Regions from separate parts of the Homo sapiens genome. Here all the other regions are linked to region 1. The links are contacts of gene promoters, found by promoter capture Hi-C in human tissues and cell types (Jung and others, 2019). All regions are on one chromosome and are shown on one strand. Each heading gives the region's core, a stretch centred on a gene start or on the middle of the fragment in contact. The rest is flanking DNA. Distances are from core to core; before and after follow the strand shown.

Evidence for each region. The method cuts DNA at HindIII sites, captures the fragments that hold promoters and counts their contacts. A contact is called where the count stands out against the background at its distance.
Region 2: the fragment with the promoter of SLC17A7 here is called in contact with the fragment with the promoter of NTF4 in region 1 in 2 of the 25 tissues and cell types used here (dorsolateral prefrontal cortex and liver).
Region 3: a contact is called between a fragment that was not itself captured here and the fragment with the promoter of NTF4 in region 1, in 2 of the 25 tissues and cell types used here (lymphoblastoid cells and mesenchymal stem cells).

What each region holds. Positions count from the first base shown.
Region 1 is chr19:49,063,264-49,066,945 of GRCh38, forward strand. NTF4 (neurotrophin 4) reads right to left here and starts at 1,555. Exons shown (of 2, transcript NM_006179.5): 1 at 476-1,555. The HindIII fragment of the contact is 9,200 bases long and covers 347-3,682 here.
Region 2 is chr19:49,439,460-49,443,141 of GRCh38, forward strand. SLC17A7 (solute carrier family 17 member 7) reads right to left here and starts at 2,068. Exons shown (of 12, transcript NM_020309.4): 1 at 1,859-2,068. The coding sequence starts at 1,920. The HindIII fragment of the contact is 22,755 bases long and covers 1-3,682 here.
Region 3 is chr19:48,720,919-48,724,600 of GRCh38, forward strand. It overlaps RASIP1 (Ras interacting protein 1), which reads right to left. Exons shown (of 12, transcript NM_017805.3): 10 at 3,419-3,591; 11 at 936-1,083; 12 at 1-79. Among named protein-coding and RNA genes, the nearest start is that of MAMSTR, 3.0 kb to the left of the region's middle. RefSeq lists enhancers at 1-393, 98-147 and a cis regulatory region at 1-130. The HindIII fragment of the contact is 3,220 bases long and covers 1-2,860 here.

The DNA.
Region 1 (3,682 bases), core at 305-2,804:
CCCAAAGTGCTGGGATTACAAGCATAAGCCACCATGCCTGGTCCCAAACAAAATTTTTTTTTTTTTTTTTTTGAGATGGAATCTCCCTCTGTCGCCCAGGCTGGAGTGCAGTGGCACGATCTTGGCTCACTGCAAGCTCCGCCTCCCAAGTTCATGGCATTCTCCTGCCTCAGCCTCCTGAGTAGCTGGGACTACAGACTCAAGCCACCACGCCTGGCCACATTCCACAATTTAGAGAAAGGTCACAACCTGGAATCCTAGGGAGACCCCAGTTCACCTCAAAACTGCCACTAAGGAGGTAAAACGCTGCCCCTCTGAGGCAGGCTTCAGTTTCCCTGTGTGTGAAATTGACCTGGCGCTGGGAGAGGCTGGTGGAGGCGCGGATTTTGCAGTTTCCCTACAACATTCTGGAAGCCTGTGGTTCTGGGAAAGGGTGGCGTGGAGAAGACTGGGAAACAGTCAGTAGTTACCAGACCTGTCAGCACCTCCTCCGCCTCGGAGCTCTGGGGCTGGGAGTCCCCAGGCTTCGGGGGGCCCCTGTGGAGGACACAGGTGGCCCCCTCCTTCCTGACATCTCAGGAGAGGGAGGGGGCAACCACCTAGGGGAAGAAAAGAATAGACAGGTTATAGAGGCAGGTGGGGAAGGGGCCAAATCCCTGAACAACCCCTTCCCAGAGTTCCTCTTCAAGTGCAGGGTACCCAAGAGTCAAGGCCCCGCCCCCTTTCCAGAGGCCCCTTTTCTACCCAGGTGATGGCTCCTGGCTGGGATGGGAAGCAGATGGAGGGAGGGGAAGGGAGAATAGGGGAAGGGAGAGGCAGTGGATGAAGGAGGCTGGAAGAGATTACATCCCCCTCGGCCCATTCATCTCCCAGATGGGGCGGAACTGGCCTGGACACCCGGGTCCCTGAGGGCCCACACTCAAGAAGCCCTGGTTCCCCAAGCTGCTTCCTGGAATGTTCCCTCCTCACAGGACAGGCCAGGGCCCGCCCAAGACTTCTGCACATACCTGGAGTGGCTGCCTGCCCTGGCTCCTCGGTACAGGAAAGGGGAAGGGTGGAGAGTGAAAGGAGCCCAGGCTGACCCAACCAGGACCGCCTTCTCCCTCAGACCGAGTAGTGCAGACCCCAGGGCCTCCACCTTCAGACCCAGGAGTTCAGATCCCCAGCGCCCTCCTCCCTCAGACCCAGGAGTAGTCCAGGCCCCCAGCGCCCTCCTCTCTCAGACCCAGAAGTCCAGGCCCCCAGCACCCTTCTCCCTCAGACCCAGGAGGAGTCCAGGCCCAGGCCCCCAGCACCCTTCTCCCTCAGACCCTGGAGTCCAGGTCCCCAGCGCCCTCCTCCTTCAGACCCAGGAGTCCATGCCCCCAGCGCCCTTCTCCCTCAGACCCAGGAATCCAGGCCCCCAGTGCCCTCCTCTCTCAGACCCAGGAGTTCTGGAATTCAGGCCCCTCCTTCTCGGATACTAAGAAATGCAGACTCCGGGTTCCTCATCCTCCAGATTTGGGTTGGGGGTTCCGGACTCCGAGACCCCTCAGGGGAAACCGGCTGCATATCTGGGACACTTCCCTCTTGCCTCAGTTTCCTCCGCCAAGCCCCGCCCCGGTCGGCCCCGCCCCCGTCCCTCCCCACCCGAGGGCAGGGCGACCAGGACGCCGGAATCCCGAGGGAGGAGGAGTGGAGATCTTACCTGGGGCGCCCTCTTCGGCTCCCGCGGCTGCCCTCCGCCCGGCAGCAGCTCCTCCTCCTGCTCGCTGGCTGCAGGGACGCTCGCTGGCCCGCCGGGTGCTAGCTGCTCACGCTCCGCAGGGCCCGGGTCGGGGGCGGGGGCGGGGCGGCGCCGGGCGGCAGAGGAGGGGCCGGGGGATCCTGCCTTGCACTCGCGTGCCGGGACCTTGGAAGCCAGGCCTGGCTCGTTCAACGCGGCCGCCTTGGTCACAGGAGTCCCAGTTTCCAGCTGCCTCCTCCTTTGGACCTAGCAGTCCAGGCCCCCAGCCCCTCCTCCCTTCAGACCCAGGAGTCCAGGCATCCGGCCCCTCCTCCCTCAGACCCAGGACTTGCGACCCCAGCCACCTCTCCCCCCAGCCCCAGGCGCCTGAGTACTAAGCCCACAGTTCCCCCCACCACCTCCCAACCCCGCCCCGTCTCAGACTCAGGAGTCCAGCCCCCAGCCTCCTCCTCCATTAGCCCCAGGAGTCTGGGCCTGAGATTCCTTTGCCGTCTTTTGCCAATTGCGTGTCAATCCCGGGGCAGATTCCCACCCTCTGCTCTCCTCCCCACTTCCCAGGAGCTCCACGCCAGACATTAACCAGCTGGGCTTGGGCAGTGATAAGGCCCCAGGCCCGGGGAGACAGTGGATGTGGGGGCTCCCGCATACTCCTCTCCCCTGGAATTTCCTGGCTGGGGACCGGGGAGAAGGTCTTGTCCTGAGCTCAGATAAGAGACGTGCAAGGTATCATAGGACCAGAGATAGACAGATGTGTCTTAAGAACAATCAGCTACCTTGAGAAATGGTGCGCGGTGACATGAAGGGAGAGATAGGGAGAAGACATGGAAAAGTGGGGAGAGACCAAAAGAAAGAGGGGGACCGAGACTAGAGAGAGTGGGGGAGGGCAGGAGCCCAGAGAGAAGACAGAGGCCCAGAGAGCGTGAGGGCAGACCCCCCCACCCCCCCGAGAAGGGGACAGAGCCCCTGAGAGACCCTGAGAAAGACAGGGATGGGACCGGAGCCGGAGTGTCTCAGGACAGTCATGAGGGCAGCGGGGCTCCTCACCCCACCACACCTCTACCCTGAGACTCCGCTCCCCTCCGCCTGCGCTATTTTCAGAAGGAAAACTGACACCTGCCTCGAGGGTCATCCCACACCCCCTCAGCCTAAATATAGCATGGCAAGGTGGCAGGAGGGTGTCCCCGGTTAGGGTGTTTCCTGCTCCTCACCATCCCAGCCAAGGCAACACACAAGGCCGCTCCAGTTATTTATTGGGGGTGGGGGGAAGGGCCACTTCCCAGGCTTTGGGTGTGCATTCAGGTCACCTCTCCGGCTTCTCCACCCTTCCCCTGTTCCTAAACAGCCAATACATCCTGCCGCATAGCAGGAGGACTCTAGCTTCTAGCTTCTAGCTTCTAGTCCTGGAGGGGATAGTAGGGATGAGGTTTCCAAACAGAGTGACTGGGAAACAGTCTCTGTCCCCCTATCTCCAGGTCTCTGTTCCCCTCCCTCTGGATTTCTGTCTCCCTCCAACTCTGGGTCTGTCCTTCTCTCTCTGAGTCTCTGTCCCCCTCTCTCTCTGGGTCTCTGTCCCTCTCTCTCTGGGTCTCTGTCCCCCTCTCTCTCTGGGTCTCTGTCCCCTTCTGTCTGTGGGTCTCTGTCCCTCTCTCTCTGGGTCTCTGTCCCCCTCTCTCTCTGGGTCTCTGTCCCCTTCACTCTCTGGGTCTCTGTCTCTCTCTCTGTCTCTGGATCTCTGTCCCCCCTCTCTCTGGGTCTCTGTTCCCCCCCAGGTCTCTGTCCCCCCTTCTCTCTGGGTCTCTGTCCCCCTCTTTCTAGGTCCCAGTTTTCTTCTCTCTGGATATCTGTCCACCCTCTCTGGGTCCCAGTCTCCTTCTTGCTGAGCCTCTTGCATCCTCTCTCTTGGGGTCACTGTCTGCTTCTCTTTCCCCTCGTGGGGGTCTCTGTTCCCGCTCCCGG
Region 2 (3,682 bases), core at 818-3,317, 380 kb after region 1:
CTGGGTGCAAGGAAGCTCCCCACCAGCTGTGGCATCACTCTTCTCAAGGAAGAGCTCTGTTCTAGGCTTGGGAGGGAGACTGACCTGGGTTCAAATCATGGGGCTCATACTCATCCACTGATCTCCCCAACCCCAGAATGGAGCCTCAGTTTCCCCATCTTTGTCTAGAGGATTAAATGAGATCAACCTGTTGTCTCTAATATGGGGTATTCCCCTCTCCCTCCAACCATCAGAGCAAACCCCAGGCATTGGAAGCAAATGCTTTTCTCTGCACAAACTCCCTGCTGATGGTCCTGGCCAGAGCCCGGGGGTCTCTGGGGACCCAAGAGGTAACTCAGAGAGTGAGAGCCAGAGAGATTGACTGTGAGAAACCCTAGCACAGATGAGAAACAGAGGCAGAGACTGAGGGAGGGGCCTGAGGAATACATCCCTCCCGCTGCCACCCCCCAGCCCCCTCCACCAGCACGTCTCTTTCTCTCTCTCTCATTCTCCTGACTTCACACTGATGTATTTTGAGAAACTCGTGAAAGGAGGCGAGAAAAAGGGTGGGGAGGGGCTGGAAAATTGGAAAAAGAAGGGGTGAGGTTATCTCAGCTTCCCCTCCACCACCAACCTCCGTCACTGCACCATCCTCCTGCCCACCTCCCCCCACTTCTGTCCAGCCTTATTCTTGTCTCTCATGTTACTAGAGGGTGGGGTAACTTTGGAGCTAAGAGGTGATCTGCAGCAAGCAAGACTGATGTTAGACTTAGCAAAGGACCCCCATGGCCTAGCGAGGTGGACTGAAGCTCAGCGAAACACAGGGTCAGGGCTGTGGGCCAAGGGGACAGGGCCTGAGGGCACGGCGGCAGGGGCATGGTGCTGATGAGGCCATCTCCTTCGTGCACTGTGGCCAGATATATTTTTAGGCTTTTCCGCAGCTGAGTAATTTATCTGACTTAGAGCCAAAGCTGGGGTTGGGGGTGAGAGCCTGTGGGGAGGTGTCCAGATTATCCTGAGGGACACTCGGTTCACTGGGGTCATCAACCTGGTTGGGAGGGAGTCCCTGTCAGCCCCAGCCTGTATCCTTTGGGAAGGCTGTCCTACCCCAGGAGCCGAAATTTTTGGCCTCTAACTCCTTTCTCTCCCAGGGACCCAGGGTGCTGTGACTTCTTCCACCCAGCCTCACCCCCTCAAGGACAACGGGCTATGAGCCCCAATCCGCTTTAGCTGCAGATTAAACTCCATGCCAGACAGAAACGGAAAAAGACACAGAGAGACGGAGAGACCCATGGTGGGAGAATTAAAACACAGAGACGGGGACAGGGACCCAGAGAAGTGGGGACCAGAGATCCAGGGAAGAGGAGAGACCCAGAAAGAGGGGGACAGAGACTCTGAGTCAGGAGTTGATAGAGATCCAGTGAGAGCAATGGCCAGAGAACCAGAGAGAGGGGCACAGAGACGCAAAGAAGCGGAGGCAGAGATCTAGGGAGAAGGAGGGGCCCAGAGAGAAGGGAGCCGAGATCTGGAAAAAGAGGGAGACGGAGACCCAGAGAGAAAAGGGGCAGAGACATCCAGAAAGAGACGGGGACAGAGACCCAGAAGTGGTGGGGGAGGAGCCAGAGACCCGGGAGAGAGGCATTTACAGCACCAGAGAGAGTGGAGCCGGGTGGGGTGGGGTGCAGAAAAAGGAACAGGATAATGGACAAGGCTCGACCAGGGAGAACAGCGCCGTCGGAGCCCACGGCAGAAAACTGGACAGATGGGTGGACCCCCATGCCGGGGTATCGCCCGTTCATCTGTCAGTCTGCGCCCAGGTGGGAATTAGCATCCTCCTCAGATCCTCCCACTCTTCTCCCGGGACCCCCGCCAGGCTCACCGGTGCAGCTTCCCGAGAGCACGACCCGCTAGCTTCCGAAACTCCTCCTGGCGGAACTCCATGGTGGCGGCTCCTGCCGCCGGTCACCCCGCGGGTCCCCCCCGCCGATCCCCCCGCCCGCGGGCCCGGGCGGCCGCGTCCGGGTTCCCGGGGTCCAGCCCCGGCCCGGCCGGCCCCGCAGCTCCGCTCGGGGGGAAGGAGGCTGCAAGTGCAGGCGGCCCGGGGGCTGTCACAGGACTCAGCGCCGGGGGCGGGGCGCGGGAGGCCCCGCCCCGGCCCCACCAGGCCCCTCCCCTCGTCTGTCAGACCCGCCCCCTCTCGCAGCCCTTTCATCCTCGTCCTGTCCCCTCCTGAGCCTTCCAAGACCACGCCTGTGGGTTCTGAACTCACGCCTCCGAGTTCACGCCCCCCAATTCTGTTCCTTCCCCAGGCTACTCCCCCTATCCCTGTTCCATCACCCCTGGCTCCTACCCAGATTTTCTCTCCTCTCCTGAGTTCTCATCCCCATCATTTCTCTCCCCGACTTCTGTTCCCCCTAATTGCGTCCCTTACAATCCTGTCTTCTCTGACTTTCCCTCTGCGTTCATCCTCCAGTTCCTTCACTCCTCCCCGCCCCCACCCCGCAATTCCATCCCCATCCCACCTCGTCCCCAGTTCCAATAGTCTCATCCAGGGAGTTCTTTGTTTTCTCATTCAAGGGAAATTCTTTCCCCTCAAGTCCAACGCCTACTTCGATCCACCTGTCGTCCCCCTCTAGTCCCTTTCGCCACCCGGGTTCTTCACCCTTGAGCTCCATCTCCTCCTTAGTTTCCATCTTTCCCCTTTGAATCCCATACTCCTCCAGCTCTATTCTCCCTCCGGCGTCTCTCTCCTCCCTGTTGCTTCTCTCCCTGAGTTTCATTCCCTAACCCCGATTTTCTTCCCTCTGGCTTCCGCCCCCCACAGTTATATTTCACACACCCCGCCAGTGCCAGCTGCGACCCCATAGTCTCCCCATTGTGTTATTTCTCTGCTCCTCTGGGATCTGTCCGCGCTCTGAGTTCTTCCCTAGCTCCGGGGGATCCATTCCTCTATTTGAGTTCTGTCTCCACCCCCTGAGATCTGTCCCGCCCCCTAAATTGTGATCCGCACCCCCTGGCATCCTCACCCGCCCTCTGAATTTGTCTCCTCCCCTAGGATCTGTCGCTGACCTGAGTTCTGCCCCCGCCCTCTGAGTTCTCTCCCCACCGTTGGAGTTGTGTCCCCTTCTCCTAGGATCTGTCCCTGGCTCTGTTCCCGCCCTCTCAGTTCTGTCCTTGCCCCCTGGAATCTGTTCCTGCCATCTGAGTTCTACCCCTTCCCCACAGGATCTATCTCTGCCCCCTGGAATCTGTCCCCACCCACCGAGTTCTGGCCTCCGTCCCTGGGATCTGTCCCCGCCCTCTGTGTTCTACCCCTGCCCCATGGGATCTGTCCCCGCCCACCCAGTTCTCCCCGCCCCCTGGATCTCTCCCTACCCTCCCAGTCTTGCCCCGGCCCCATGGGATCTGTCCCCGCCCTCCGACTTCTGACCCTCGCCACTGGGATCTGTCCTCGACCTCCCAGTCCTGCCTCCGCCCCCGGAATCTGACCCCGCCCACCGAGCTCTGGCCTCCGCCCCTGAGATCTGTCCCCGCCCTCCCAGTCTTGCCCCTGCCCCATGGGATCTGTCCCCCGCCCACCGCCTCCGCCTCTGGGATCTGTCCCTGCCCTCCCAGTCCTGCTCCCACCCCCGGAATCTGTCCCCGCCCACCGAACTCTGTCTCCACGCCGGAATTCCAGCGCCGCCCCGTTGGGTAGAGCCCG
Region 3 (3,682 bases), core at 1-2,500, 340 kb before region 1:
GGACCAGTGAGGCGCAGGCGCGAGCTCCCCAGGGGGAGGATGAGGGGCGGGTGCGAGGAGAAGCTTTCGAAGATGTCCCCTGTGAGGCCGAAGGCGGCGCGGTTAGAGTCTGAAAGTGGGAGTGAGGTAGTTGCATCGGGAAGAGCCGAGGCTGCGTCACACCCAAAGGAAGAAAAAAACTACAAACCCCAGCAACTCCTGGGGCGGGGTCCGTTCACACGCTACTCTAGGAGCCCCTGGGCATGATGGAAGTTGTAGTTCAGACGATGGAAGGCCACCGTTGCCTGGGAAACGGCTTCCCAAATCCCCGAGAAAGGGCTGGGAACTTGCCTTACAGATTCCTAAAGGTGGAGGAGTCAAGTTCAGGGGAGTGAAAGTCCCGAGACCTGGACTCCTAGGGGTGGTGGGTGGGTGGCTGGTGGAGGGAATGGACTAGGGATGCGAACCCCAGAGAATAAAGGGAGCTGGGGGCTTGAACTCCTGTATCTTGACGGGGGAAGGGGCTGGGTCCTGCACTTATGTCCTGGTGGGGAGGGACAGGGGTCCAGAATCTGGGGTTAGAAGGAGACTGGGGATCTGGACTCCAAGATCCTGAGAAAAGAAGAAAGGTGAGGTGGTTCACGCCTGTAATCCCAGCACTTTGGGAGGCCGAGGCGGGCGGATCACGAGGTCAGGAGTTCGAGACCAGCCTGGCCAACACGGTGAAACCCCCGTCTCTACTAAAGATACAAAAAATTAGCCAGGCGTGGTGGCGCATGCCTGTAATCCCAGCTACTCGGGAGGCTGAGGCAGGAGAATCGCTTGAACCCGGGAGGCAGAGGTTGCAGTGAGCCAAGATCGCGCCATTGCACTCCAGCCTGAGTGACAGGGCGAGACTCCGTCTCAAAAGAAGAAGAAAGCTGACAGCCCCAATGCTGTATCCCATTGCTCCTCACCTGTGTCCACAGCCTCCCGCTCTGCAGGGGGAGGGTCCCACGCGGCTGGCGGCCCGCGGCCAGGGCCCAGCTGATAGTGGCTGAGCAGATGGTGCAGCTGGGCGGGGGTCAAGGTGGGGTGGTCGGTTCTTAGGCTGCTCCATGAAGCCTGGTGGGAAGACCAGGTGAGAGGTTGATGGTCATTACGGGGCAGTTAAGAAATGAAATGGAAGGGCTTCCATAAGGGGAGTGGGTGTGGTGGGAAGATAATGGCATCTCTGCAGTGTCTTCTGGGCACTGTGAAGTCTGTTTATCACCAAAGTGATGGTGGGGAAGGGTGTGCTCCCAGCAATTTGTAAAAATGTGATGTGCCTCAGGATAATTGAGGATACAGGAAATGAGTAGGGTGGAAATAAATAAGATTGGCCATTCGTTTATATTATTGAATCTGGCGATGGTACTTGGGGATTTTTTTTTTTTTTTTTTTTTTTTGTCCTTAAAGAGACAGGGTCTCACTCCGTCGCCCAGGCTGGAGTGCAGTGGCTCGATCGTGGCTTGCTGCAGCCTCAAACTCCCGGCTCAAGTGATCCTGGGCTCAAGTGATCCTTGGCCCCAGCCTCCAGAGTAGCTGGGACTACAGGCACACGCCACCACACCTGGTTAAGTTTTTGTAGAGATGGGATCTCACTATGCTGCCCAGGCTGGTCTCAAGCTTCTCAAAGTTCTAGGATTACAGGCATGAGCCACTGCGCCCAGTTGGGATTCATTATTCTATGGCGGCCACTCTATATCTGTTTGACAATGTCTACACCTGATGTAGCTGACGTCAGAACCATCAATGTGCTTAACATCAGAGACTCCACCTAGACTGCCTGAGTTCAAAAATCCCAGGTGGGTCACTTATTACCTTCCGGCAGGTCACCGTCCCCTAGTCTCCTCATCCATAAATTTGGAGAACAGGAACTATCTAATAGAGTTGGTATGAGGATGCAATATGGCAAAATTGTAAAGTACTTGGAACACTGCCTGGGGCTTATTAAATGCATGGTAAACTTTCTTTCTTATTGTTTTGAGACAGGGTCTTGCTTTGTCACCCATGCTGGAGTACAGTGGCATGACTGTGGCTCACTGCAGCCTCAACCTCCTGGGCTCAAGCAGTCCTTCCACCTCTGCTTCTGGAGTGGCTGGGACCACAGACGTGTGCCTCCACACCTGGCTAATTTTTAAAATTTTTGGTAGAGATGGTGTCTCCCCTATGTTGCCAACTGGTGTCAAACTCCTGGGCTCAAGCGGTCCTTCCACCTCGGCCTCCCAAAATGCTGGCATTACAGGCATTAGCCACTACGCCCAGCCCATTATAAACATTTGATATAAATAAATAAATGTCTATGGGGAACAGTTTTTGTAAGATATTTAAGAAGAAAGGAAAATAAATAATTGAAATTGGCCGGCCATGGTGGCTCACGCCTGTAATCCCAGCACTTTGGGAGGCCGAGGCAGGCGCATCCCCTGAGGTCAGGAGTTCAAGACCAGTCTGCCCAACAAGGTGAAACCCTGTCTCTACCAAAATTACAAAAATTAGCCGGGTGTGGTGGCGCGTGCCTGTTATCCCGGCTACTCAGGAGGCTGTGGCAGGAGAATCGCTTGAACTCGGGAGGCGGAGGTTGGAGTGAGCCGAGATCATGCCATTGCACTCCAGCCTGGGTGACAGAGTGAGACTCCGTCTCAAAAAAAAAAAAAAAAAAAGGAAAAATAAGTGAAATCAAGCGACCTGTCCTACCTGATTCTGTTTCCTCATCCAAAAAACAGTCAGTCACCTACTTCGATGGGGCTTTGTCAGCATTAAACTAGAAGTGCTAAACAGGGTGCCTGGCAGGTAGTTCATGTTCAATGAATGTTTTAATCATCATGTTCCTTTGTCTCATACCACACTTTCTGACTCAGCATGTCTGAGTGAGGGACCCTGGAAACTTTTTTTTTTTTTTTTTTTCTGGAGACAGGGTCTCGCTCTGTCGCCCCGGCTGGAGTGCAATGGTGCAATCTTGGCTCACTGCAGCTTCTGCCTCCCAGGTTCCAGCGATTCTCCTCCCTCAGCCTCCAGAGTAACTGGGATTACAGGCGTGCGCCATCAAGCCTGGCTAATTTTTGTATTTTTAGTAGAGACAGCGTTTCGCCATGTTGGCCAGGCTGGTCTCAAACTCCTGGCCTCAAGTGATCCACCTACTTAGGCCTCCCAAAGTGTTGGGATTATAGGCGCGAGCCACTGCTCCTGGCCTGGAAACTATTTTTAATAAGTTCCACCAGGATTCAGACACAGCCGAGTTTAGTCATTGTTGGTGCTGGCTTCCTTCTACCTGCCAATGTGTTACCCACAGTGTCTGAGCTGGGGCTGGGGATGGCATGGGGTTCAAGGGGAGCTCTGACGGTGAGCTGAATATAGAAGGTGGCTGAGGGGGGTTGAGGAGTCAGAGGTCAGGGGTCAGGTATAGCTGACCAGGAGTCACCTTGAGCAGGGAAGTGCGGGGCACACAGAGCAGGTTCACAGCCATGGAGAGTTTCCGGAAGAACTCAGTGGCAATGTCGCCCAGCCCAGCTCCCTGTAGCCAGTCCAAGACGAGGTCCAGGTTGGTTCGGATTTGAACAGCTCGGGACCATTGATAGAAAGGCCGGCCTTGACCTGTGGGTGTTAAAGGTATGAGAGGCAGTTGGTTGGCTGGACTCTGTGCTCCTGCCTCCCAGACTCTTCCTATCCTTCAGCCTGGGATCTG